Regions from separate parts of the Homo sapiens genome. Here region 2 is linked to region 1. The links are contacts of gene promoters, found by promoter capture Hi-C in human tissues and cell types (Jung and others, 2019). All regions are on one chromosome and are shown on one strand. Each heading gives the region's core, a stretch centred on a gene start or on the middle of the fragment in contact. The rest is flanking DNA. Distances are from core to core; before and after follow the strand shown.

Region 1 (3,193 bases), core at 442-2,941:
TCAGCTTTTGAAGTTGGCCTGTTTTTCTTGAGCTTTCCTTGCCAGAATTTGACTTTTAAACATTTTTTTTCACAAAACAGAACTTTCTCTTTTTAACTCAGTAATAGAAAAATGCATTCTTAAATGTTGTCAACAAAGGGGAGGAGGGGATCACTGCGAATCTATCGATGACCATGAATGTTTTTGTATCCTCTTTCCCATATTACTAGTGTCTCTTGGAAAATTGAGCTGTAATAAGGATCCAGCCAAGAGGAGGGTGGAGTGAAGAATTCTGTGGCTCTGTAATACCTGGGGCGTTTGTCCCACTCAGCACATCTCAGTGTCTAAATACCCACCCTCAAGAAGTGGGACTGCAGCAGGAAGTGAAGTATCTTTGCATATGTTCAATATATAAACTAAACTCGAACATCTGGCAAACACCCCTTTCCTGGGTGAATTCTGGAAAACAGCACAATTATAATCCCAAGCAAATAACTCAGGAGTAAGACTGTTCCCTTGTTAAGAACACCAGGCAGCATCAGTAAAAGTTAAAACTTCTTCTGCATCTATGCGCTTTTAATCTCCACGGCCATTTCCATAATACCTGAGATTACCTGCGTTGATAGCTGGTGAGAAATCATCCCAGGCACCGCAGGTGGAGAAAAGAGATGAAAGCTACCTCAAGGCGTACACGTAAACCTTACTGAACAATGACCTTGATCGTTAGAAAGTCAAGAAAATGTACTGCCTTGCAAGCTGCCGGTGTTCTATTGAGTTTCTCTCCGGGGGCAACTCGGAGATGCCTTTTTGGCACCATCGGTTCTAGTATTTCCTCTGGCCTGCTGCGCCGCGCCTCATCCAGGCTTGTAGTGAGGCACCCCCACTCGCCCGGAGACCCGGGCCGGCCAGGAGGTGCCAGTGGGCAGGTGTGGCAGCCTGCCTGTTGATTACAGTCCCTACAATGTGCGAGCTCCTTGGGACTGCAGGCTGCGCGCCGCCAGCTTTGCCTGGTTCGTCCTGATTACACTAGGTTTTCGGGCAGAAACAGCGACACTGAGCTCGGGCTGGGGGTGGGGCCCTCGGGCCCAGTGCCCGCCCCCTGCCCTCCCACCGCCAGCCGAGAGAAGCCCGCCCGGGAGCGCGCTTTCTAATGCACCAGCCCCCGGGAACAATCTGTCCCTCCCAAACCCGCCACGGCGGGGGTTCACCTCCCGGGTACCCGCCGCGCCCACCCTATGGCCTAAATGTCTTTTCATATATTTTAAAAACTGAACTGTGTGCAGTGGGGATGCAGGGCGGGAAAGGCTGGAGGGCTCATTTTCGCCACCAGGCTTGCCTCTCCGGGCGCACGAATTAGGCCCGAGCTAGAGTCCAACCCCCTTCCCGCCTCAGGGGGCTCGGGGTGGCGCGGGGTTAGGGGCAATGAACGACGATGGAGGCGCCCCAGGCTCAGCGGCGGGCGGGGAGGCAGAGGCGGGTTCCAGGAGCCGGGCTGAGGCCCGGCAGGTGCCCCCAGGCGCGGAGGCTGATTGGCAGGTGCGTGAGTGGGTGGGGAAGGCGGGGGCTGGGCTTGGCGCTGCGGGAGGCTGCGGCCCCGCCTCCCCGCCCCCGCCGCGGGACTATCTGGTCCCGGCAGCAGCGATGTCCCCCGGCAGGAATGTCCCTCCTCAGATAATGTTATTTATATCTCTGGGCGGGTCCGCGGCTCGGCAGCACCAGGCGCCCGGCGGCCGCTGTGCCAGGAGCCCCGCGCTGCCCTCCTCCCCCTGCGCCGCCGCCGCCGCCACCCCCGGGCTCGGGGTGGCCCCCGCTTCAGTCCCAGGGCAGGTGAGTCCCAGGAGGGCCCGGCGGCCAAGGGAGCTGGGTGCGGGTGCGCAAGGCTGGGACGCGCGGCGCCAGCTCAAAGGAGCGCTGGGCCCAGGGGGCGCCTGACGCGCAGGGCCCAGAGGACCGGGTGGGAGTCCAGCCCCGGTTGTCGGGCGTGGGGTGGGAGGGGTGCGGGGCCCGGGAAGCCCGGCAGCTGCGGCAAAGATCATCCCGGGACGCGGGAACGCGCGCGGGCGTCCGAGGCACTTGGTGCTAGCTTTGGAGAGCGGGATCCCGGAGAGTCCGTCACCCCGGGGCGCAGGGAGAGGGTGACGGGGGTGCGTGTTCTCGTCCGCCTTCTCCAGGACCCCGGCCTGGGAGCGAAGGGGATTGCGCCTCTAGCCCGTCCGACCGCAGCGCTGCTCTCTGCCTTTTTTTGTCCGGCTTCTCAGCCTTGTGGCCGCTCATATCCCTCTTCTGGGGAACTTGGCTGCGCTCTCCTCGGGCCACCCAGCGCCCAGGCAGGAGGGACAGGTGAGGGCAGCAGAGGGGGCCGGGCCTCCGGGTGCTGGGAGCCACCCAGAGAGTGACCCCGTGTAGACCGAGGGAGGAAAGATCCTAGTGCCCCAAGCCATACTTCAAGGACCCCTAGTCTTCCTCTCCCAAAGAGTTCCTCTCTTCCTCTAAGCTTCTCCGGGCTACTCTACCCTCACCCTCCTCTCCAGTTTCCCCTCTTCCTCTAACTTGGTCTTGAGAAATAGCAGAAAGTGGGAGAAATAACAGAAGCTGTAAAACAATCCCCAACTCCCACCAACTCATCCGTACTTCCCAGGCTGGGGAAGCAGCTGCGGGGCTGGAGTGCTGTTTCCCTGACAACGAGCTTCAGGTAGGGCCTTGAGTTACAGCCTATTAATATCCAAACCACTGTTTTCAGTGAGCAATTAGAGGCGCCAGCCAGGAGTAAGGAAAATGAAAAGAAGCCACTGTTTTTTGTACATCTAAATTTTAGATGCATCAGATTGGGGGGTGGGGTGGGGGGATATAGTGACAGCCTTTTTGTACTGAGAATTTCTGTGGGGAGAGACTAGGCTGTCACCTCCAGGTAGGAGGCAGTCATGCAAAACCCCTGCCTGGAGGTAGTCACGATCCGTATTTTAGTTTCTAAGGGAAGAGATTCAGGCGGCTCCCTAATGAGAGGAGTCTGCAAATCAAAGATTTTTAGGCACAGCTCAACTGTCCACTGTCCTATCCTTAGCTTCACAGATGGCTCTGAATTTTATTCTAGAATTCCCTCTTCGCCCACCCCTTCCCCCACTATAACCCAAGGCAGGTCATTTCTTATTTTAGGATTCAGCTTTTATTCTTTTGCTCTGAGTCCCAGGTTCCAAAATGCAATTGAAAACACCTT
Region 2 (3,193 bases), core at 398-2,897, 36 kb after region 1:
CATGAGCTTTACATCTGTGTTTATAATGTTTGTACCAATGGGCACACACAGAACTACCAATCTTTTGGCGGGCTAAGCGGCTACTTCTGTTCAAAGGAAAAAACTTGCTAAGTGGCTATTTTCTGATAAGGATGTCCACATGCAGTGGGTGTAGCAAACTGTGTAGGGCATAAAAGAGATAATGACAGGGAGCAGGCTAGTTCTGCCATGCCCAGATAGTGAGGATAGGAGGAGCTGATTCTGTATAGCCGGTCTAGCCTGGTTTGGTTATGGATTACTTTGGATCTTTCATTTCTCAGTGCTTTGCTTATTTTCCATGTCCATCTCTCTCTTTAACAAGGAAGTATTGTATGCAGTGAGAGCAAGAGCTCAAAGACTTGAGATTCTGGGTCTTATTTCTGGTCAGGTTAACAATATGAAATGCTCAGAAGTTTTAGGAAGATCATCTTCTTCTCCATCTCCAAAGTTGCATGCTGCGATCACAAAGGGAATGGGAGGCAGACATCTTTCCAAACACTGAGATCAGGTGGAATCTCTGGAATGTGATTTGGATGTATTTTGGAAATGTTGGGCTATTTTTAGTAGAAATGGGATAGGGAGTTGGGGAGAATAGTAAATCTGACTTGCAAAGAGTAGGTGTTTTTGGGAAGTCATAGCCTCTTCTTCATGTTACTTTTCAATTAAAGCCCTGCTAAATGTTAATGTGAATTGCTGGACTGTTATTAACAAAGCTGAAATTTATCATTAGAGACAATTCATCCTAAAGTTCTGCTGTCAGACCGGCATCAGGCTTCTCACAGTTGTGTGACTTTGGGCAAGTAGCTTAACTTCTGTGAGCTTCAGTTTCTTCATTTATAAAATGGAGAAGTGAAAATCACTCACAGGAGAGCACTGATGATGAAAGGAGGTATGTATGTCAGGCACTTAGCATGGTGCCTCACATGTTCTAAGTACTCACTAAACATGGTTGTTTCGTTGTTGGGGGTGATGGTATTCTACAAATGTCTGTTGTTGGGGATATAAATTCCTATTGTGTGTTGGGACCTGGTCCCTTCACACATAGGTGGATAATTCACAACTGAGGACGTGCATTTGCTGGCAGTCAAGGGTAACTATAATAATAAAGACAGGCTGGGCTTTCTAGCTCTCATTTTTTTTTTCTCCATGACTCCTGCTAAGCACTCTTGGAGATCATGGCCATCACATTCTTCGTGAAGATTCTCTACCCAGCCTGGGTGTACCATTTTGAGGATGGGTAGGTCCACTCTTGTTGGATCTCAACTGTAGCCTTTTTTTGTTGGGATTTGCTAAAGACCTGGCATATGTCACTTTTATAATTAAAAACAATTTGATAAAACACATTAGGGTGGCTGAAAGGAAATATCCCAAATTAACAATGGTCCTGTGTGAACATAGGCTAATGCACAGCTCTGTGCTGGGATGGGAGGCTGGTGGTGGTGATGGTGCTTAGAGAGTCCAGTCAGGAGAATGGGTAAATTCTGCATTGAGCACAGAATGGTTCAGGGCAAGGCACATGGGCTAATGCTTAGAGCAGGCGGTGACTATTGCTATGCTCCAAGCCTGGCAAGGGGTGTTGCCAAGGTGAGCAGGCAGCATTCCCGTCTGTTCACACCCACTCTTCTCTCCCAGTCGTGGTCCTCAGGTTGGCTTGACAGCGATGGCCTTTATTCAAAGAAAGCAGCCGCCAGAGCAAGACTAAAGCCTGTCCTAACCCTTGACAAAATGTCACACTCATGCCTTTTTTCCTACTACCGGAGACTAAGGGTTGTGATGGAAACAAGGGAGCTGCGATGGGGCTGTGACCAAGTGAAAATGAGAGAGTAAGGAATTTACTGCTTTGCTTGTTGTGAAGAATGGTGGCAAACATTCAAACATTGGTTTGGGTTTTTTTTTCCCCAGTGAAGTATAAAAACATCTTTTCCCCTTTTTATGGAGGGAAATGAGGGGGCAACAACATGACAGACCTTGAGTAGTAACTGCGTGACTGCTCTGCATCCTGCCCCAAGCATCTCTTCTGTAGACGTGTCTCAGGCATCACAGAAGAGATGTGGTTGCCTCTGCGTGTCTTCTCCTGGCCCTGTAAAAGCCTTGAGAAGCACAAAATATAGGCTATTTGTTTTCATCAGAAACCTGTCATCCAGGATTTACAGAATCTACACAGATGCCCAAAAAGGGCAAGATGGCCAGTACCCATGTAAACGCTGGATAGCCTATGTCTGATGATAAAAAGTTTCTACTTCTATATGTCTTCCCTCCCCCTTTTTTTTTGAGACAGGGTCTCATTCTGTCACCCAGGCTGGAGTGCAGTGGTGTGATCACAGCTCACTGCAGCCTCAGCCCCAGGCTCAAGTGATCCTCCCACCCCAGCCTCTCAAATAGCTGAGACTATAGGTGTGTGCCACCATGCCTGGCTAATTTTTTATTTTTTATAGAGACAGGGTCTCTCTGTTTCCCAGGCTGGTCTCAAACTCCTGGGTTCAAGTGGTCCTCCTGCTTTAGCCTCCCAAAGTGTTGGGAGCCACTGCATCCAGCCTATATGTCCCCATTTTTAAGTGCCACAAGTAGAGGGGGGTGTAGTTGCTATTTTATAATTGGAGAAACTGAGGCACAAAAGGGGCTAACAATTTGTTCTTCTGAGCTGTGGAAACAGCAGCAACCTTAGAGCAATGTTTGTAGACCACACAGATTCAGAGCCTGTATACTCCGTGTCTGACACGCTATTAAGGACTTTAAATACATTATCTCATTTGATCCAAACAGCAGTGCTGTGAGGTGATGACTATTACTAACTTCATCTTACAGATGAAGAAATAGAGGCTTACGGACTATAAGTAAATGGCCTAGGGCTCCCAGCTACTAAGTGGCTAAGTCCAGAGACATCCCCAGGCATTCTAACTCCAGATATACCTAACCACTACCCCCTACTGCCTGGTTCACGTCCCCGGATCAAAGTTACCTTAGTCTACTATTTCTGCCATGAAATCCCCTGCCTGCTACCCTCTGGCTCTTTCTGGAAACTGGCTCCAGCCCTTGCTGAACGAAGGAGTACTGCTACCATGTACTAGGAAACGAGATGTGGCGAGCATTTTAGAGTTGCTTGCAGACTATTTTAGCAATGACCACTCACTTCTCTGCACCTTTCAAATGACCTATGCTGGCTTATGTGTCCACC

The links. Contacts are between HindIII fragments. The study calls those that stand out against the background at their distance.
Region 2: a contact is called between a fragment that was not itself captured here and the fragment with the promoter of SPTB in region 1, in 2 of the 25 tissues and cell types used here (H1 embryonic stem cells and liver).

What each region holds. Positions count from the first base shown.
Region 1 is chr14:64,878,405-64,881,597 of GRCh38, reverse strand. SPTB (spectrin beta, erythrocytic) reads left to right here and starts at 1,691. Exons shown (of 36, transcript NM_001355436.2): 1 at 1,691-1,806. It overlaps LOC105370534 (a long non-coding RNA gene), which reads left to right. Exons shown (of 3, transcript XR_943942.3): 3 at 210-717. RefSeq lists silencers at 1,071-1,150, 1,221-1,360, 1,411-1,580. The HindIII fragment of the contact is 6,743 bases long and covers 1-3,193 here.
Region 2 is chr14:64,842,161-64,845,353 of GRCh38, reverse strand. The region is part of intron 1 of SPTB (spectrin beta, erythrocytic); the gene reads left to right. Among named protein-coding and RNA genes, the nearest start is that of SPTB, 36 kb to the left of the region's middle. The HindIII fragment of the contact is 9,697 bases long and covers 1-3,193 here.